Regions from separate parts of the Homo sapiens genome. Here regions 1, 2, 3, 5 and 6 are each linked to region 4. Evidence: promoter capture Hi-C in human tissues and cell types (Jung and others, 2019). All regions are on one chromosome and are shown on one strand. Each heading gives the region's core, a stretch centred on a gene start or on the middle of the fragment in contact. The rest is flanking DNA. Distances are from core to core; before and after follow the strand shown. Region 1 has its middle 340 kb from the start of HTR2A. Region 2 has its middle 260 kb from the start of HTR2A. Region 3 has its middle 460 kb from the start of HTR2A. Region 4 holds the start of HTR2A (5-hydroxytryptamine receptor 2A). Region 5 has its middle 360 kb from the start of HTR2A. Region 6 has its middle 420 kb from the start of HTR2A.

Region 1 (3,609 bases), core at 831-3,330, 340 kb before region 4:
CACATGTTCTCACTCATAAGTGGGAGTTGAACAATGAGAACACATGGACACAGGGAGGGGAACATCACACACCAGGTCCTGCTTGGGGGGATGGAGGGCTAGGGGAGGGATAGCATTAGGAGAAATACTTAATGTAGATGACGGGTTGATGGGTGCAGCAAGCCACCATGGCACATGTATACCTATGTAACAAACATGCATGTTCTGCACACATATCCCAGAACTTAAAGTATAATAATTTAAAAAAACAACAACAACAGAAAAAGAAGCCTGGCCAAGTGCAGTGGCTCATGCCTGAAATCCCAAGTTTGGGAGGCTGAGGCAGGAGGATTGCTTGAGCCCAGGAGTTCAGGACCAGCCTGGGCAACACAGGAAGACCCTGTTTCTACAAAAAATTAGAAAATTAGCCAGGTATGGTGGCACATGCCTGTAGTCCTAGCTACTTGGGAGGCTCAGGCAGGAGAATCATTTGAGTCCAGGAGTTCAAGGCTGCAGTGAGCTATGATCACACCACTGCATTCTGGCTTGGGCAACAGAGTGAAACCCTGTGTCCAAAAAAAAAAAAAAAAAAAAGATAAATATGCTAGGGCTGGGCACAGTGGCTCAGGCCTGTGATACTAGCACTTTGGGAGACTGAGGTGAGGGGCTCGAGACCAGCCCTGAAGTCATAGGTTCAAGACAGTCCTGGGCAACAGAGTGAGGGCCCATCTCTTAAAATACAAAAAAAAAGAAGAAGAACCTTAAGCTTACACTATCTTTGTTTTTCAGGTTAACTCAGCCACATGTGATACTCAGTTCAAAGTTCAAACTCCCAATCATTCCTCTTTTCCCATCAGAGTTTTCCTTCCTTCTCCCCTTTTCTGAGACATGTCTGGATTCAGGATGAACCTTATTTATCCTCATGGATTTATGAGGAGAAGCTTCTGTGGCATAGGTTTCCTTCCTGCTTTCCTGGTCTCTTTAGTAGTGTGCCTGGTTTGCTCTGGACTCTGTGCTGGTATCCACCTGGATGTTCCTACTCCCACTTGGACTTTTGGCCTTGTCCTGGCTCCTGATGCTGAAGTCTACAGTGACTGTAATTTGCCGTGGATATGAGGTCCCTGCGCTCTATAACAGGGCTTAGCAAACTTTTTCTATACAGGGATAGAAAGTAAATACCTTAGACTTCGTAGATCACATGCAGTCTCTGTCACATACTTTTCTTGTTGTTTACTATTGTTCTCCTCCTCCTGTTCCTTCCTCCTTTTCCTCTCATTTTCTTCCCTCTCTTCTGTCACCTTCATCTTCTTCTTTTCTATAGTCCTTTAAAATTTTTTTAAAATTATATCTCAGGGCTGTAAAAAGGTAGGCTGTAACAGGAGTTGGCCTGCAGACCACAGTTTGCCAAACCCTGCCCTGCGGCCTTTGTCTTCTGACCTTGGGTCCCTTCCTATTCCCCTACATGGATCCACATTCCTGGTATGCAGTCTATGGAAGACTGTAGACTATTATTACAGGTCCGTCTATCAAGAAAACTCCCTCTACTCACAGCTTCATTGCTTTTGCACCATTTTGATCCCAGAAACAGAGCAACAGCCAGAATGTTCTTTCATTCCCTCTCAACCTAGCTGGGTTTTTTGTTGGGATTTGATTGCTCGAGGCCCAGGAGATACGAGGTGCTAGGTCTGCTTTCAGGGACTCTGGCGGCAACATTCCCATTCTAGTGACATCGTCACTAAATTCCTCTGCTTTTCCTCTCAGCAAAGGGCTTTCTACTTATGTGGGGTGGGTTATGTCTTATGATAAACCATGGTTTATAGTAAAACTCTTCTACTATGTTATATTAGCCTTGTATTTTACTACATAGAAGGGAGATTTGGGAATTGAGGAAACAACTTTCATTCTCAACCAAGCTTAGTTTTATGTAAACTTCAAGATTGTTTTTTGTTTTGGAAATGGACAATTAAAAGCAGATCATTTTTCAATACAACATATTTCCCAATACATTCCTGAAATAATTATCCTAAGTCCCCATGTTACATAATTACTGTCTGATTTATCCATTACTCAGATGTACACAAGTTTTCTTAAGCAAGGGTGCACTGTATGTATTTCAAGTTACTAGACATCTAAACTGTTTACTGCTGACCATGAATTTGCCATACTTTGCAGGAAACATTCAGCTTCAGGGTAAAGTCAAGTATTCTAAAGTCGTATATTATAATCATCTATTTAAATATTTTAAGTGATCATTTATTCATAAGGCCCTACTTTTTTCTTCCCAAGATATTTGGCATGATGCAACAGCAATTAAACGGCACTTATAATCATAATCACAGCAATTATTATGTTTTCTGGCAGCTCTGTGCCACCCTTACATAGCAAGCCTCCAGAGATGTGTTCTGCCTCTGGAACAGAGAACATCTGCCCTCAGCAGTGGCTCCAGCCTGTGCTCCTGCCTGGATCACTCATGAGAGCCTCTGTAGTGACTCTGCCATACCCTAGGAACCATCGTCAGTGACTCAGTGTCACCCAGCAAATGAGAAGGCTGCTACAGTGCTTAGCTGCCCTTTTCCTCTCATAAAGATTCTTCATTCTTTGATATTTGCAGAGTTAAATACAGCAGATTTAAAATTCCAAATGCATCCTACTTTAGATGCCCAGAAATATGGCTCAAGCTTTGATTACAGAAAGAAGTAAAATGTATGAGATGGTTCACTGTGAATTTAAAAATAATTTTCAAAAAAGCTGGATTTCATTCAGAAAGGCCAAAGCTGCTTGCCTGCTTGCTTGTGCCTATGTTCTTGTTTTCTCTCTCTCTCTCTCTCTCTCTCTCTGTGTGTGTGTGTGTGTGTGTGTGTGTGTGTGTTTAAGAGGAGGAAGAAATGTCCAGTCCAGCATCATGAGCCTCCTTCTTCCTGAGATCCCTGGAGAATATGAGAATATGAGGTGGACACCACTGGGCTAGGCTGTTAAGGAATTGAACCTCCCACCTGCCTGGTCTGAAATTCCAGCATTAGAACCACCTCTTCTGGGAAATGTTCTTTTGCCTTTTCAAGCAGGGTCATGGGTTGCCTCTTCTATACTCCCACAGCTAAGGTGATTAAGTGTCCCAGTTTGCCAGGAACTATACCATTTTTGAAAAAAATGAAAGTCCCATATCCCAGAAAACTCAGGAGTCCTGGGCAAACCAGGGCAGTTTGTCACCATACTACTGTGTTCAAGGGTCAGTGTTTACACTATTATAATCATCTAGTTAGCTGCTGGTTGCCCTCATTAAATGTAAACTCCTTGAAGGTAGAAATTATGTCAAGCTCTAAAAAATTTTTTTGTTGAAAGAATGAAGGAGCATTTGAGAGAATGAGTAAGTGAATGAATGAATGAATGAATGAATGCATGGATGGAACTAATTAGTCTGATAAGGTTATCTATAGTTTTGAGAGGTTCATTTATCATTTTTCCTGAGAGGAGAGAAGCAAGATACTTCTCCTTCAGTAAATTTACTCAGATTAGTGCATTAAATCTAATAACATGCCTGGATTGCATGCTTGAATATCATGGCAGGAGATAATACCAGGATCAACATCAGGAAAGGTAAGTATACATGAAAGATTGCAGGGAATCTGGCTG
Region 2 (3,512 bases), core at 622-3,121, 260 kb before region 4:
TACAACTAAACTTTATGGGAGGCTAAAATGACTGGAAGTATATAAGCTTAGTTCCTGAGGTTTTCAAATGAAAACCCCAGATGTAATTATTATATATATATATATATATATATATATATATATATACACATACACACACACACACACGAGTTTATATATATGTATGTGTGTGCGTATGTGTACACATGTGTGTATATGTGTGTGTGTTTACTTATATTTTATAAAAGAAACAGTGGAGATATAACAAAAATTGATAAATATAGTTACTAGTGTAGGGAAGAAGGTAACTAGGTGGTAACTAGACACTAACATTTTATCAAGAAATGTTTGTTAAATGAATAATGAATAAATGGATCCATATCAAATGGCTAGTTATCTCTTTCATTATGTAGCTTGAAAACTGATGCAAATATTATTCTACCCAACCTAAAGACTGCCTCATCTTAGACTAGCATACATTGCTTTAGTCTTAGAATTAGACATAAATTAAGTTTTTCACAAAATTCCTGCAGCTATGATAGCTCTCAAGTTGTTGGAAGAATGGAGAGAAACTGTTTTAACTATATAACACCCACATGAACATGTATTTGGATTTGCACCATTAATAGGAAAAGCTTTTAATCCTCAGGAATAATTACTATTTGTGGCATTTTGCCTGTTCAGCATGTATACTTTATTTGGAAAACTAACTCCTCCACTATAAACATTTGTTTCTACTGAGCCTGCAATCATTGTATCTCATCTATCCAACCAGAAGTGTGTACATGATCCATCATACCAAGACTCAGCCAATCATAGCAAATTGCATGGTAAATATTTTAGGCTTTCATGACCAAAAAAGACAAAATGGAAGATATTATAGAGGTATGTAAAAAAACTAATGTAACCATTAAAAAATGTGAAAAACTTATTCTTATCCTGTGGTATTTAAAAAAAATTAAAAAGATGACAGGCCAGATTTGGCCCATGGACCACAGTATGTAAAGCCTATGTATTTCATTTTCCCAGCCACCCTGATTGGTTCAGGAGTAGACACGTTTCTCAAATCGGTCAACAAAAGTTTATATCTGAGATTTTTCAATTCAGTGCTGGAAGAAAAGGAAGCTTGCTTTTAGAACCATGAGAAAAGGATATAAATTACCCTGCTTGCTCTATGTCTATAAAGGGGGTGATACAGCTTAGCTGTATCCCCACCCAAAATTTCATCTTGAATGGTAATCCCCGTAATCCCCATAATTCCCTACATGTCAAGGGCAGAGGCAGGTGGAGGTAATTGGATCATGGGGGCAGTTTCCCCCATGCAGTTCTCATGATAATGCATGAGTCTCACGATATCTGATAGTTTTATAAGCATCTGGAGTTTCCCCTGCTTGCAGTCACTCTGTCCTGCCACCCTGTAAAGAAGGTGCCTGCTTCTCCTTTGCCTTCCACCATGATTGTAAGTTTCCTGAGGCCTCCCCAGCAATGCAGAACTGTGAGTCAATTAAACCTCTTTCCATTATAAATTACCCAGTCTGGAGTATTTCTTCATAGCAGTCCGAGAACAGACTAACACAGAGGGGAATAACGCCAAAACACAGAGAAATCAAGCGATCTGATTATTTCATTAGAGTCCCTACATCCATTTTTGCTTGGAGCAAGATCTACCTCTTTGTTTCCCAGTCACATAGGTCAATAAATTCCCTTTTAGATTTATTTATTTAGTTTCTCTTTTTTAGTTTTTTATTAGTTGTATTTCTTTCACTGGAAACCAGATAAAATTATAGCTATGTATATTTAGTATATACTTATATATAAATATATGTGTATGTACACATACACATCAATATATATTTACACATACAGACATAATACACATATATATTCAATAAATATATATTGAGGGCCTAATATTCACCAGATATTGTTCTAGGCACTGGAGATTCAAAGGTAAAATACATAGTTAGGCATGCTTTAAGAGTATCAGAAATTCTGGATTAAGATGGCACTTTAACCATATACATTTTCTTTCGTGCTCACCAAAAATCTCTCTAGGACAACAGTAAGGATTTTTTTTTTTTAAGTCATAAACTTAAAAGGACAAGGAGAGTAAGAGAAGATATAGCAACAAATTTTGGTAGCTGGAAAGCAGATGATTAAGAAAGCTCTCTTTTAATAGCCAATGCTAGGAAAAGCTAAGTGACTCACTAGTGGCCAATAACGGGGAAAACTAAGAAATAATCCAATTTATAACATTTATTAATGTTTCTTTTAATATACAGAAACATTAAAAGTTCCAGAAGCTGACAATTACCTCTGCAAGTAGAACTGATGAGCTTAAAAAAAAAAAAAGGAATTGAGGAATGACCAGATCCCCAAATTTTTCTCCTTCTCAATACTGGAGTTACCTTGTATACTTGGAAAGCATAAAACAGGTGGTTTTTGTACTGGGGGTGGTAACCAGAGTTGAAGATGGAACTGTGATGAAGATTAAGTACATATTTATATCCAGAATGAGGGAACACACACTTCCTTTTGCCACTCAGTTCCTCCAAGGACTCTTGAGTAGCCGAAAAAAATGAAAGAAATTCTCACCAGTAGACATCACAAGGAAATTACCTGGCCAGACACTCTACAGGGAAACCACAGTTAGAGAGTTATAAAGTAAAGCACACTAGTTCTGAGATTTCAGATCTTCTTTTTGCCCAAATCTTAAATTTGAATATATAGCCAAGGATTGGCAGACATCTGAATAAAGTTTCTAACATAAAAAGGACCAAAAGAATCATGTATCCATAGTGCACCTGGAAGGAACAGACTTCTCTGGGGCAAAATAATTTCAAAATAACTGTCACTACTATCCTCATAGAAAAAAAGAATATCATTAAAATAGCATTCTGAGAACAAAAAAAGAGCTTTTATAAATTAAAAATATTACAGAATAATTTTTAAAAGCCATAGAAGATTTGCAAAATAAAGCCCAAGAAATGCATATGAAATTAGACTAAGACATGGAAAATAGCAGGGGGGAAAAAGCAAGAATATTAGAAGACTAGATCTAGAGTTTCAATATCCAAACAAAGGAATCCAAATAGAGAATAGAGAAAATTGAAGGAAGGAAATCATCAACAAGTAATTTGTGAAAATTTTCCATTTATAAATGACAAAGGCTCCTAGATTACAAGGAGCAATTAAGAGACCAGCAGAGTAGATTAATATAAACACTCACCAAGGAACTCAAGGCACATCATCATGACATTCCGGCACTTCAGAACACTGACAACAAAGTGAAGATTGTAAAAGGTTTGAGAGAAGGAGAGAGAGAGAGAATATTATATACAAAGGTCAGAGGTAAGATTGACTTCTGACTTCTCAACACATGGAAGATAGAAGGCGGTGGAAAATGCCAAAAGCATTCTAAAGGAAAACAATGACCAACTATGTCAGAGCATCCCCAAGACCACCTCCCCAGATTCTGCAATTCACTAGAACTCACAGCACTCAGGATATAGTTGCACTAACTGCTATGGTTT
Region 3 (3,560 bases), core at 116-2,615, 460 kb before region 4:
TAATGGTTAAAAAAAAAGAGCAGGAGTGGCTATACTTATATCAGTCAAAAAAAATCTTTAAGTCAAAATAGTCAAAAGAGACAAAGAAGGCCATTATATAATAATAAAAGGGCCAATTAATCTAGAGAATATAACAATTGCAAAAATGTATGTGTGAAACACTAGTCATGTAATTAAATAAATAAAGTATTAACTGCATGGAAGAGAGAAGTATAAAGCAATAGAATGTAGTAGGGTCCTTCAGTACTCCACTCTTAACAATGGATAGATCATCCAGACAGAAAAATCAAAGAGGGAACAGCTGACTGGAACATTATAGAGCAAATGGACCTAACAGACATATACAGAACATCCCATCCAGAAGCAGCAGAGTACACATTTTTCTTGAGTGCACATGGAACATTCTCCAAGATAGGTCATACGTTAGGCCATAAAACAAGTCTTAACAGCTTCAGAAAGATTGAAATCATATGAAATCTCTGCTGACTACAATGGTATGAAACTAGAAATCAGTAACAGAAGAAAAATGAAAAATTCACAAATATGTGAAAATTAAACAACACACTCCTGAACAATTAATGGGTCTGAGATAAAAACTTAGGAAAACAAAACCTAAAAAGGGAAATAAAACCATATCTTGAGACACAAAAAAAATGGAAAACGATGTTAGGGAAATAAAATCATATTTTGAGACACACAAAAAATGGAGACACAACATATCAAAACTTACAAGTCTTCAAAAACAGTTCTAACAGGGAAGCTTATAGCAATAAACAGTTAGATTGAGAAAAAAGAAAAGATCTCAAATAAACAACCTGTCTTTACACCTCAAGAAACCAGTAAAATAAGAACGAACTATGCCAAAAAATAGCAAGACAGAAACAAAATAGCAGAAATCACTAGGTAGACTGACTAAAAAAAGAGAGAAGACCCAAATCAAATCACAGAGAGACAAAGGATCATGAGCGACTACTATGAACAATTATAAGTTAACAAATGAATTAACCTAGAAGGAATGAATACATTCTTAGAAATATAACCTACTAAGATTGAGTCATGAAGAAACAGAAAATCAGAAAATACTAATAATGAGTAAGGAGGTTGATTCAGTAATCTAAAACCTCTGAACAACAAGAACAACAACACCTAAGGCCAGACGGCAACACTGGTAAATTCTACCAAATATTTAGAGAAAATTAATGTCAATACTCTCAAACACTTCCAAAAAATTGGTGAGGAGAAAAAACTTCCAAAACCATTTTATGAGTCCAACATTAATAAGAAAGCAACACAAGAACAATACAAAAAATTTCAGGCCAACATCCCTGATGAATATAGCCACAAAAATCCTCCACAAAATACTAGCAAACCAAATTCAATGGCACATTTACAGATAAATTAAAAGATACCCCATGTTCATGTATTGAAAGAATTAATATTGTTAAAGTGTCCGTACTACCCAAAGCAATCTAAGAATTCAGTGCAATCTCTACCAAAATCTGATGATATTTTTCTCAGAAATAGAAAAAAAAATTAAATGCATATGGACCCACAAAAGACCCCAAACAATGAAAGTATCCATGGGTAAACAAAAACAAAAACAAAACAAAACAAAAAACTGGAGGCGTCACACTATCTGACTTCAAAATATGTTACAAAGTTATAGTAAACAAAACAGGATGGTACTGGCCTAAAAGACACACATAGACCAATGGAACCGAATAGAAAGCCCTAAATAAATCCACACACTTATAGTCAATTGATTTTCAGCAAAGGTGCCAAGAACACACAATGGAGAAACATAATGTTTCTTCAATAAAAGGATGCTGAGAAAACTGGATAATCACATGCAGGAGAATGAAATTAGATCTTCATCTCACACCACATACCGAAAAAAAAAGAGAAGACCCAAATCAAAATAGATTAAAGACTTAAATGTAAGACCTGAAACTGTAAAATCATTAGAAGAAAACCTAGGAGGAAAGCTCTATGACATTGGTCTGGATAATGATTTGTTTGAATATGACCCCCAAAACACAGGCAACAAAAGCAAAATTAAGCCAATGGGATTCCGTCAAACTAAAAGCTTCTGCACAGCAAAAGAAACAACCAACAGTGTAAAGAGATAACCTACAGAATAGGAGAAAGTATTTTCAAAGCATGTATTTGATAAGAGGTGAATATCCAAAACGTATAAGGAGGCTAAGCTTGTTGGCTCACACCTGTAATCCCAGCACCTTGGGAGGATGAGGTGAGAGGATCACTTGAGGCCAGCAGTTTGAGACCAGCCTGGGCAAAATAATGAAATCTTTTCTCTATTAAAAAGGAAAAAAATTATTAGGCATGGTGGTGTGTGCCTATAGTAGTCCAAGCTACATAGGAGGCTAAGGTGGCAGGATTGCCTGACCCCAGTAGTTGGTGGCTACAGTGAGCTATGATCACACCATTATACTGCAGCCTGGGTGACAGAGTGAGACTTTCTCTAAATATATTTCACACATACATATACATATTATATAATATGTGTATACTATATAATATATGTATATATGTAATATATACATATATATGTATGTGTGTATCTATCTATATACATATATATATTATATATATATTTAACTCAGACAACTTACTAGCCAAAAAACAAACAACTTAATTTAAAAATCAGCAAAGGACCTGAATAGATATTTCTCAAAAGAAGACATACAAATAGCCAACAGGTATATGGAAAAATGCTCAACATCACTAATTATCAGAGAAATGCAAATTAAAATCACAAAAAGATATGCCCTCACATTTGTTATAATGGCTATTATAAAACAGACGAATGATAAAAAGTATTGGCCAGGATGCGGAGAAAAGGGAACCCTTGCATACTGTTGGTGGGAATATAAATTAGCACAACCATTATGGAAAACTCTATGGAATTTTCTCAAAAATGAAAAAATAAAAGCACCATATGATTCAACAATCTCACTACTGTGTATATACATCCAAATGAAATGGAGTAAGTAGGTCAAAGAGATATTTGCACTGCCATGTTCACTGCAGCATTATTCACAAGATATGGAACAAGCCAAAATATGGAGCCATCCTAAGTGTCATCAACAGAAGGATGGAATAAGAACATGTGTTATATACAATACACATATATAATAGAATACTATTTAGCCTTAAAAAAAGAAAAGCCTGTCATTTGTGACAATGGATGAACCCAGAGGTAATAATGTTAAATATAAGCCACATACAGAAAGACAAATACTGCATGATCTTACTCATATATTTGTTTTTTATTTGCCTTAACTGTAGAAAGAGGTGTGTTAAGATCTACCAATATGATTGCAGTTGTTGTTGTTGTTGTTGTTTGTCAGACAGAGTCTCACTCTCTCACCAGATCTGGAGTGCAGTAACGTGATCTTGGCTCACTGCAACCTCCGTCTTGTGGGTTCAAGTGATTCTCCTGCCTCAGCCTCCTGAGTAGCTGGGACTATGTGCCACCACACCTGGCTAATTTTTGTATTTTCAGTAAAGACGGGGTTTCACCATGTTGGCCAGGATTG
Region 4 (3,850 bases), core at 905-3,404:
TATTAAGGGTATGGAAATGAAGTTCAACATCTAATAGAGAAGACAGACATTTACACAGATGTCATGCATTCATTCAACAAACATACTTAAGCACTATGCGCCCAGCTGTTAACAAGATAGACACAGTTCCTGCCTTTATGAGGCTTACATGAGACATGATGTGTTAAAAATAGAAGGCTGCAGAAGGTGCTATAGTCTTTGCCTCCACTGGGAAGGAGGGCTACAGAAAGCTTAGGAACAGTAAACTTAGTAAGAATAATAGCAACTAACCTTTATTGAGTGCTTAAAATGTGCCAGGCAAATATGTAAATTTATTTGGCTTTCACGTCAATCCTGAGGTCTTTTTATTATTAATGTTCCCTACTTGCGGATGAGGAGACTAAAACACAGAGATTAGGTAGCTTAATCACGCTTACAGATGTGGTGAGTGGTAGGCCTGGGATCCAGAGCTGCTCTGGAACTAAGCACGAATTTGCCAGATGGACACACACAAAAAAGGAATGGTAAGAGCACTCCGGGCACAGGGAAGTACAAGTACAGAGACATAAAAATGGTCAGAAACATGTAAGTTCAGTCTGCATACAGGCTGACTGGGAGAGTAACCAGAGTCCAGGCCTGCAAAGTGGGGCAAGCAGGGTACAGGTAGATGAAGAAAAGTGTTATGTGCCCCACAAGGAAGGGACTGCAGGAGTGTAGGCATGGGAGTGATGCCAATTGTGTCATTAATATCAGTAAGAATATCAATAGGAATGAAAGTGGCTGACATTACTTGAGAACCTCCTATAAGCCAGACATGGGCCAAATACTTACACACATTATCTCAGTTTAGCTTCACTACAATCTTATGAGGAAGGTATTATCCCATTTTACAAGTGAGAAGACTGAGCTTTAAAGGGAGCAACTAGATGAGGCGAGGTTCTACTGTTTATGAGTGATAGAGCTAGGATCCAAAACCAAGGAACTCTAAGGTCTGTGTTCTCCGCTGCCTGCTCGCCAGCGTGCATATTTAACGTGGAGGGGTAGGAGGGTGGCAGGCATGGCAGTGAGGGGGGCACTAAGGCACCCACCCAGGAAATAGGTGGCTAGATCTCGACCACAGGGTGCCAGCTGCAGGCTGCAGGAGAGGACATGTGAGAAACACGCATACAGAGGTAGCACCGGAGACGAAGTGGGATCTGGCAGCGAGAATGAAGGAAGAGTCGCGGATAACAGCAGCTGTCTGAAGAGGTGGTGATTCCATCATGCAAGCCAATGGGTAGGAACAAGCACTGAGAGCCGGGCAGGGGGATGCGGAGTGAGGGAAGATGCTGAGGTCAAGGTCTCCCAGGCTACCATGGAAGGAGCCAATGGGCAGCTAGAGATTTAGGTCTGGAACTGAGAGAAATAATCAGCTATGAAGGTACAGACTTGGCCACAAACATATTGAAGGCATGAGAGTGGTTGAATTTGTCCAGGGAGAATGTGAAGAACAGAAGGTGATAGAACTGTAGCAAAACCCAACTATTGAGGAAAATATTTTCATGCCTGCAAAAAGAGAGAGATCGAACTGCCTCCTTTAGAAACCTACTTGGGAAAGGGCTTTCTTTACAAGTAAGGCAAGTTGTCATTACTGGTGGGGGAAAAAAATTGGTACTGCGAAACCAACTTATTTCCTACCACATGTGAGGTTTTGAATAATATCTGGGTGGCATATTTCTGCTGAAGAAAATAAGCCAGTTCAATGGTGTATCTATTAAATAAAAATAGTGCTAATAGTTTATCAGAGTTATCACCACAGACGTGCCTAGCCACCCTGAGCCTATGTGGCCAATGTCAGTAATTCCACTCTGGACACAAACACTGTTGGCTTTGGATGGAAGTGCCGGACACTCACAGCACTCCGAGGACATACTGTTTTCTAGCCTTATTTATGTTCTCTCTTCACCCTTCAGCCTAAAAAATTACCACAGTGCCACTTACCTACCTTAATGGGAATCTGCACAAAAGGCCATTTCTCCAGTTTCTCTCAAAAGCAAAGGAAAACTTCCCAATATTAATATGTAGCAAAAAGAGGGAGAAGAAAAAGCCTGTTTGGTCCGCCCTCCTGGCTGTTGCTACCTTGCAGCTTATGACATACACATAGAGGGAGGTCTGATGAAATGAACGAGACAGTCAGAGAGCTACTCCATTCCCGTGGAAACCAGGAGTCCCTTGGTGCAGACAGCTCTTCCTACTTTCCCATGCAGTTCTTTTGTGCGACTTTGAGGGGCTCGTGAATGATTTCTAAATGTGTGCCTGCTGAGGCGAGCCGCACAGGGAGGGAGGAACCCAGCCGAGCCGTGCCAGAGGAAGCCAACAGGATCCTAGCAGTGCGGGAGCTGGCTCAGCTCTTGCATGCAGTTTTTGAAGTCAGCAAAACAGAAACCAAATTACTATCATATTATGCTGGTGGAAGATCAAGAAGAGGGGACTCTACACCAGTTTAATTACTGTGAGAGATGCAGCGAGTCACAGAATAACAAATGTATCTCATGTGTGGACCCTGAAGACAAATGTAAGTTCTCATGCCGCTATATTTTATTGCTGTGTAATTTTCTTTCCGGTTTGAAATCATGCTTGGCCAACATGTAATCATTTCAATGAGAATTTCCAGGGAGGAAAGTTGTCTGCTAATCTTTACTTAAGACTTTTTTGTTTTCCTTTTATTAGCTAAGCAACATTATAGGAGCTGAAATTCCTGACAGCAGCTGTGGCAATTCAGCTTAAGAATGGCTGAGAACTGTAACCCAAAGTACATCCAATTACTATGGGATTAACACTGGATGTATTTTTAATTGACTTTCTTAATGTAGAATGTGTACATCCCCACTGTTTCTGATTGCATGCTATTTTAATAATACTGTTGCTAAACTAGTACCATCGGCATAACCAACAAAATGAGATATAGTTAAACAAGAGTCCCAGTAGTTATAAAACTTTTCTTCTTTGTCCAGGACATTTATCTTCCCGAGCGCTCAAAAAAAACCCTGCAACCTCTATGCTAAAAGTTCATTCTGCTTTTTTGTCCTCGGTTTGGTGAGAAAATAATAAAACCAAACAGTGGACTCTCCTAAAATTGTGAATGAAGAAAACTTACAGCCACCACAGTTCAGTTCTTTAACTATCATTGTAATAATGGAAGACAAAAATCCAGCCCCGGGAGAACAGCATGTACACCAGCCTCAGTGTTACAGAGTGTGGGTACATCAAGGTGAATGGTGAGCAGAAACTATAACCTGTTAGTCCTTCTACACCTCATCTGCTACAAGTTCTGGCTTAGACATGGATATTCTTTGTGAAGAAAATACTTCTTTGAGCTCAACTACGAACTCCCTAATGCAATTAAATGATGACACCAGGCTCTACAGTAATGACTTTAACTCCGGAGAAGCTAACACTTCTGATGCATTTAACTGGACAGTCGACTCTGAAAATCGAACCAACCTTTCCTGTGAAGGGTGCCTCTCACCGTCGTGTCTCTCCTTACTTCATCTCCAGGAAAAAAACTGGTCTGCTTTACTGACAGCCGTAGTGATTATTCTAACTATTGCTGGAAACATACTCGTCATCATGGCAGTGTCCCTAGAGAAAAAGCTGCAGAATGCCACCAACTATTTCCTGATGTCACTTGCCATAGCTGATATGCTGCTGGGTTTCCTTGTCATGCCCGTGTCCATGTTAACCATCCTGTATGGTGAGTGGCATTAGTTTCCCAGCTATATTCGCACTGGTAATAAAGAGCATGTGCATGCCACCAGCAGATGAGATGGGGCTCAGGGGGCAAACAAACTATAAATAGAAGTCTTTGTTTATAGACTAGAGCCTACTATGT
Region 5 (3,558 bases), core at 851-3,350, 360 kb before region 4:
AAATTATCAGGAAGATGAGGAACCCAATAATTTGAATTGTGGACTAGGCGTTATCTTCTTGGGTAAGGCATCCAGTGTTTCAGGGTATCTTTGATTCTTCACAAGATGACTGACCAGATGATTGAGTTTTAATTAATTTTGTGAGTGGAAGTGATATGTGCTCCTTTCAGATCAAAACTGTCCATGAGTGACCTCCTCTGCATTCTCCCATTACCAGCTACTAATTAATTCTCAGAGTTTCTTAGGTTGCATTAGGTTATAAGCAGACTCTGAAATGGAGGTTAGACTCTGAGCTAGATTTTTATTAGGGAGTGTGTTGGGATAAATACCCATGGGAGGGAGAGGAAAAGCAGGATTGGGCAGAGGAACAAGTCGGGCTGTGAAGCAGACCTGATGAGAAGCTTGGATACCCCATGGGCACTCAAGAGCTAAAACAGCCCATCGAAGCTGAGCTTACTAGTCTCTAGTTGTGGGCCACTCTAGAAAGTGACCACAGGTATGGCAGTTCTCTATAGTAGAGGCAATCCTGAAAGGAGATGACATCTGAAGGCATGCCCTACAGCTGGGGCAGCAAGTATCTTTTTGAAGGGTGATGAGGTGGTGAATCTTTGTATCCACACCCAGGGCAACCTTGAAAGTCAAAAGCTAAGCATGGCCAAGTCCAGCACACAACCCCCACCCTCTACTCTGTTGCCCCCCACCCTCTACTCTGTTGCATTGAACCACTGAAATTTTAAGGTTTAGCTGGAACAGCAGCTAGTATTGTATTATGTAACACACACAGACACAATCTTTAGGACATGCTCAGCACTTGAATAAAAGACCACCTCTGTAGTGAATTGGTAAGAGAATGCATAGTTCTACTTTGTTAAATTGAGTGTTAGCGTAGAGCCTAATCAGAGCTGTGAAGTTGACAAAAATTGTCTCCATGCCACAACCTTTATGCTTTCAACCTTTATTTTGTGACTTTCCCACCTTTCCATAATTTCCACTATTAGCCCCTCCCCAACTTATTTCATAAATTTATATCCTTATGCTCTTCACACTTGCTGTCTTGAAAAAGAGAGTCTTGTATTATCTTCATAAACTCAGCACTACTTCTAATAAAAGTTATAATTTTTTTCTAGAAAAAAATGGATTTTGAATCCCAGAAACGAAGGGATGTAAAACTGCAAGTAATGTGAAATTTCACACACATGCTGGGGGAGGTGGAGGAAATTTGAGGATATGAGGAATCCGATCAATTTACCAGAAGGGTATACACTGTCTTGTAAGAGCAGCCCCCTTTTCAACTACATAACTCCAAGCCTGTGTCCTCTCTGGTCTCAGGCTACACCACACTAGGAATTAAAATGTGGCCAATTCATAATACTTATCCATGATTTGCTCATTCTTAGCCACAGCTCCTAACACGCTTCCCGTATCTCAGAAAATTCTCTCTGGGAATCTCTGAAGTCATGTAGGAATTCTCAAGTGACCTTTTCCTACTCTTCTGCTTTAATCTCATCACTGAAGTTCATTGCCCAAGAACCCACCTGGTGCATGCATGTCTCATGGCTACAGCCCCAGTGTCACCATGGAATCTGGCGTTCTTGGCAAAGATGCTGTCTTTAGGAGCTGTCCAAGTGCCTCGAGGTGTCAGTGTGAAGCAAACAATCAGAATCATCTCTAGTTTGGAGCTGCTGCTCCATATGGAAGGAATGAGAAAGCCTCCCCAATTCTCAGGTTCTTGAGTGAACACTGCTGTTTTACCCTCCTATCCAGAAGAATCCTTGTAAAAATAGTGCCTCATGAGAAATACAGCCCCTCTTTCCATAGATTTCAGTTCTCAGTTCTTAGAATTGAATCAGCTAGATTTGGCTGGGCTGGGCCAAGAAGGGGACCCTATCAACTGTGAGATGGAGACCCAGGAAGGGGACCCACTCCAAGCTGTCTCTTTTGTCAGCAGAGGAGAAAGCTCTCTAACCCTCCTTTCACTAAAAAGCCTCATTCAGATCATGCCACTGCACTCCAGCCTGGCAGACAGAGTGAGACTCTGTCTCAAAAAAAAACAAAAAACCCCTCATTCAAATGGACTCCTGGCAGCAGCCCTGCTAGTTGATGTACAGTCATATCTAAATCCCAGTTAAGGGTTAAGCTGTGACTTCTATTACATATAAAAGTAAATTTAAGAAATAGGGTAGTAATATGAATAGCATTACACATATACTAATGACTAACATTTATTGAGGCTATGTACTAATCACTCTAAGTACGTCTTCAGCATTTTCTGATTTAAACACTATCAAACTCTGCAAAAGATATTATTCTTTTTTCTACATTATAAAAAAGGAAACTAAGGTAGAGAGAGTTAAACAACTGTCCAAGTTAACACATCTAGGAATTTTCTGAGCCTGGATATGAAACCTAAATATGAAGCTCACAGCCACTGTCCTCTGCACATGGTCACCAGGGACTGACTTTCAAGTTGCATGCCCTGCTGAGTGCTCTTTTATTATATGTAGCTAGGCAGAATCTATAGCTCTTGGATAACCCTTTTGATCTTGTACAATTTTAAACAGATATGACAAAGACCACTTGAAGCCAAGGTAATAATAAGGAATTCTACCAAGGACAGAATTTTTTCTGGGTAGGCAACTGTGTGATTAGAGGCACCCCTATCCACTCACTCTTTTCACAGAGTCTAAACATCTTTTAGTCTCAAAGTCTCTTGAATCTGAGACCCTCATACAAAGGACAGTTAACTACATAACAAAGATTCTGTTTTTGAGGGATACCAGGAGATACTAAGATGGGAAAATACATGGGAAATGTCAGGTAACCAAAAGACAGGGAGTGTCCAAAATAGGCTGTATTGTCTTGCCCAAGGTAAGCCCTGATCCTGGACTCATACAGGTGTGTGCTGCTATTCACACTCTTGGGGCTTACCAAAGTCAGTTGCTTCTTTTCAATTCCCATGCTATTGTCGTCCCTGCAGTATTTGACACCCCCTTTTCCTTTACTCTTTTTCCCAAAACTCCCTTAATATTAGAGTGTTAGTCAGCTTTTGTTGCACCTGCAAACAACCCCCAAATCAATGGCTTTCAAAACCCAATATTTATTTCTTGTTCACATTGCATGGGACCTGCAGATTGGCTATAGCCTTGGCAGGGATCCATGTGTCTTCTCATTTTGGAACCCATGATGAAGGATTAGCCACCATCTGGCCCATCCTCTTGTCACAGTGGATGATAGGAACAAAAGAAACAGAGACATTGCATGCACAACAATTAAAGCTTCTGCTCAGATATGGTGTGTGTCATGACTGGTAAGCATCCGTTGGCTTAAGTGAGTACACTTCCTCTTCAGGGGTGTGGAAATGGACATGAGCAGAATGAATGATGGGAAAATTGTAGGATGAACAATAACTGGGTCTCCTCCAATTTCTCTGACTGTGCCTGAGTCACAGAAGCTGGTTCTTCTCTGTCTGAGCCTCTCAAAATGCTGCATGCTCTTGAGTTCTGTCCTTGCTGCCTTTTCCTCTCCCTCTGCCTGTTTTCCTGAGTCCAGCCTGTCCAT
Region 6 (3,347 bases), core at 300-2,799, 420 kb before region 4:
ATGAACTCATTGTTTTTTAAGGCTGCATAGTATTCCATGGTATATATGTGTCATATTTTCTTTACCCAGTCTATTAGTGATGGGCATTTGGGTTCAGTCCAGTCTTTGCTGTTGTAAATAGTGCTGCAATAAGCATACGTGTGCATGTGTCTTTATAGTAGATTGATTTATAATCCTTTGGGTATATACCCAGTGATGGGATTGCTGGGTCAAATGGTATTTCTGGTTCTAGATGCTTGAGGAATCGCCACACTGTCTTCCACAATGGTTGAACTAATTTACACTCCCATCAACAGTGTAAAAGCATTCCTATTTCTCCACATCCTCTCCAGCATCTGTTGTTTCCTGACTTTTTAATGATCGCCATTCTAACTGGCATGACATGGTATCTAATTGTGGTTTTGATTTGCATTTCTCTAATGATCAGTGATGAGGAGCATTTTTTATATATGTTTGTAGGCTGTATAAATGTCTTCTTTTGAGAAGTGTCTGTTCATATCCTTCACCCACTTTTTGATGGGGTTGTTTATTTCTTTTCTTTTCTTATAAATTTGTTTAAGTTCCTTGTAGATTCTGGATATTAGCCCTTTGTCAGATGGATAGATTGCAAAAATTCTCCCATTCTGTAGGTGGCCGGTTCACTGTGATGATAGTTTCTTTTGCTGTACAGAAGCTCTTTAGTTTAATTAGATCCCATTTGTCAATTTTGGCTTTCGTTGCCATTGCTTTTGGTGTTTCAGTCATGAAGTCTTTGCCCATGCCTATGTCCTTAATGGTATTGCCTAGGTTTTCTTCCAGGGTTTTTATGGTTTTAGGTCTTACGTTTAAGTCTTTAATCCATCTTGAGTACAGAACAGAGGCCTCAGAAATAACACCACACATCTACAACCATCTGATCTTCGACAAACCCAACAAGAAAAAGCAATGGGGAAAGGATTCCCTATTTAATAAATGGTGTTGGTAAAACTGGCTAGCCATATGCAGAAAACTGAAACTGGACCCCTTCCTTACACCTTATACAAAAATTAAGCACCTTTTCATATGCTTGTTTAACTGCTTGGATATCATGTTTAGGAAAGTGTCTGTTCAACTTTGCTCTTTTTTCTAATGAGTTAATCCTTCCTTCCTTCTTTCCTTCCATGTTTTAAAAAATATACTGTATTTTTTAGAGCAGTTTCAGATTTACAGAAAACTTGTAGAAATTATTTTCTGTTAACACGTAGGAGTTCCTTTTATGTTCTAGAAACATGTTTTCTGCTATTTCTATGTATTGCATATATTTTATCCTACGCCATGATTTGACTTTTTATTCTCTCAGTATCGTTTGACAAGAGGTTCTCAATTTGAATGTAATTTACAAAACTTTTCCTTCAGCATTAGCATTTCTTGTGACAAGATATCTTCCCCATCCCAAGGTCATGACAATATCTTGTCCCCTACCTCATATCATATCAACAAATCAATTTCTGGTGACACATACACTCAAATTTTTTGTCCACTTTGTAGTATGTTGTTTATTTTGAGTTATAAGAATTCCTTATGTATTACAAATACAAATCCTTTTTCAGATATCTGTTTTGCAAATATTTTTCCCAGTCTATGACTTGCCTTTACTTCTTCTTATCATTGTCTTTTGAAGAAGAAAAGTTTTATTACAAATTAAACTTCAATTTATTAATCTTTTATTCTATACTTTATGCTTTTTAATGTCATGTTTTAAAAAATCACTGCTAAGCTTAAGGTTACTAAGATTTTTCTCCTAAATGTATCTCTGGATTTTATATCACTTTAATTTATATTTAGTCCTGTGACTCAAGTTAATTTTTATGTATTGTTTGAGGATCATATTTTTGCATATGAATATCTACTTGTGTCAGCACAACTTTTTGAAAAATTATCCTTTGCCACTGAATTGCTTTGAGACATTTATTAAAAATCAATACACACACACACACACACACACACACACACACATATATATATATAGGTTTATTTCAGGATTCTTTATTCTGTTCCATTGATATATTTGTCTACTTCTATATCAGCCCTACACTGTTTTTATTGCTATAGCTTTATAGTAAATTTTGAATCAGATAGTGTTCTTTTTCAAAGTTGTTTTGGCTATTTTTAGTATTTGGCATTTTCTTTGTAAATTTTAGAATCAGTTTGTTAATTAAAAATATACCTGATGGAATTTTAATAGGAATTGTATTGATGCTGTAGATCAATTTGGGGAGAATTTATATATTAACAACATGAGGCAGGGCACAGTGGCTCAGGCCAGTAATTCTAGCACTCTGGGAGGCTGAGGTGGGTGGATCACCTGAGGTCAGGACTTTGAGACCAGCCTGGTCAACATGATGAAACTCTGTCTCTACTAAAAATACAGAAATTAGCCGGGCGTGGTGGAGAACACCTGTAATCCCAGTTACTCGGGAGGCTGAGGCAGGAGAAGTGCTCCAACCCAGGAGACAGAGGTTGCAGTGAGCCAAGATTGCACCAGTGCTCTCCAGCCTGGGCAACAGAGTGAGACTCTGTCTCAAAAAAACAATATGACTCTTCTAATCCATAAATACCTCTCCATTTGTATAGCTTTTCTTGTATTTCTCTCACCAGTGTTTGCAGTTTTCAGAAAATTTTGGATATTCCATGTTCATAAATTACAAGAATCGATATAGTTAAAATGTCCGTGGTTCCCAAAGCAATCTATAGATTCAGTGCAGTTTCTATCAAAATATCAATGACACTCTTCACAGAAATATAAATAGAAAAACAATCCTAAAATTTATATAGAACCACAAAAGACCCAGACAGGTATACATTGGTCTGTAGTTTTGTTTTTTTGTTATGTCTTTTCCTGGTTTGGGTATTAAAGTGATACTAGCTTCATAGAATGATTTAGGAGGGATTCCCTCTTTCTCTATCTTTCAGAATAGTTTCAATAGGATTGGTATCAATTCTTTGAATGTCTGATAGAATTCAGCTGTGAATCCATCTAGTCCTAGATTTTTTTGTTGTTGTTGGCAATGTATTTATTACCATTTCAGTCTTGTTGCTTGTTATTGGTCTGTTTGGAGTTTCTATTTCTTCCTGGATTAATCTAGGAGGGTTGCATATTTCCAGGAATTTACCCATCTCCTCTATGTTTTCTAGTTTGTGCATGTAAAAGTATTCATAGTAGCCTCGAATGATCTTTTGTATTTCTGTGGTATCAGTTGTAATATCTCCTGTTTCATTTTTAATTGAGGTTCTTTAGAGATTCTCTCTTCTTTTCTTGGTTAATCTTCATAATAGACTATCAATTTTATTTATCTTTTCAAATAACCAGGTTTTTGTTTCATTTATCT

What was found. Contacts are between HindIII fragments. The study calls those that stand out against the background at their distance.
Region 1: a fragment that was not itself captured here is called in contact with the fragment with the promoter of HTR2A in region 4 in 1 of the 25 tissues and cell types used here (dorsolateral prefrontal cortex).
Region 2: a fragment that was not itself captured here is called in contact with the fragment with the promoter of HTR2A in region 4 in 1 of the 25 tissues and cell types used here (lymphoblastoid cells).
Region 3: a contact is called between a fragment that was not itself captured here and the fragment with the promoter of HTR2A in region 4, in 3 of the 25 tissues and cell types used here (dorsolateral prefrontal cortex, lymphoblastoid cells and mesenchymal stem cells).
Region 5: a fragment that was not itself captured here is called in contact with the fragment with the promoter of HTR2A in region 4 in 2 of the 25 tissues and cell types used here (dorsolateral prefrontal cortex and mesenchymal stem cells).
Region 6: a fragment that was not itself captured here is called in contact with the fragment with the promoter of HTR2A in region 4 in 4 of the 25 tissues and cell types used here (H1 embryonic stem cells, lymphoblastoid cells, mesenchymal stem cells and 1 more).

The regions. Positions count from the first base shown.
Region 1 is chr13:47,236,634-47,240,242 of GRCh38, reverse strand. No RefSeq gene overlaps it. Among named protein-coding and RNA genes, the nearest start is that of HTR2A, 340 kb to the right of the region's middle. The HindIII fragment of the contact is 3,466 bases long and covers 348-3,609 here.
Region 2 is chr13:47,152,032-47,155,543 of GRCh38, reverse strand. No RefSeq gene overlaps it. Among named protein-coding and RNA genes, the nearest start is that of HTR2A, 260 kb to the right of the region's middle. The HindIII fragment of the contact is 3,082 bases long and covers 331-3,412 here.
Region 3 is chr13:47,353,997-47,357,556 of GRCh38, reverse strand. No RefSeq gene overlaps it. Among named protein-coding and RNA genes, the nearest start is that of HTR2A, 460 kb to the right of the region's middle. The HindIII fragment of the contact is 4,983 bases long and covers 1-3,560 here.
Region 4 is chr13:46,895,357-46,899,206 of GRCh38, reverse strand. It overlaps HTR2A (5-hydroxytryptamine receptor 2A), which reads left to right and starts at 2,154. Exons shown (of 4, transcript NM_000621.5): 1 at 2,154-2,533; 2 at 2,973-3,712. The coding sequence starts at 3,301. The HindIII fragment of the contact is 6,478 bases long and covers 1-3,850 here.
Region 5 is chr13:47,256,655-47,260,212 of GRCh38, reverse strand. No RefSeq gene overlaps it. Among named protein-coding and RNA genes, the nearest start is that of HTR2A, 360 kb to the right of the region's middle. The HindIII fragment of the contact is 5,283 bases long and covers 1-3,558 here.
Region 6 is chr13:47,313,265-47,316,611 of GRCh38, reverse strand. No RefSeq gene overlaps it. Among named protein-coding and RNA genes, the nearest start is that of HTR2A, 420 kb to the right of the region's middle. The HindIII fragment of the contact is 8,995 bases long and covers 1-3,347 here.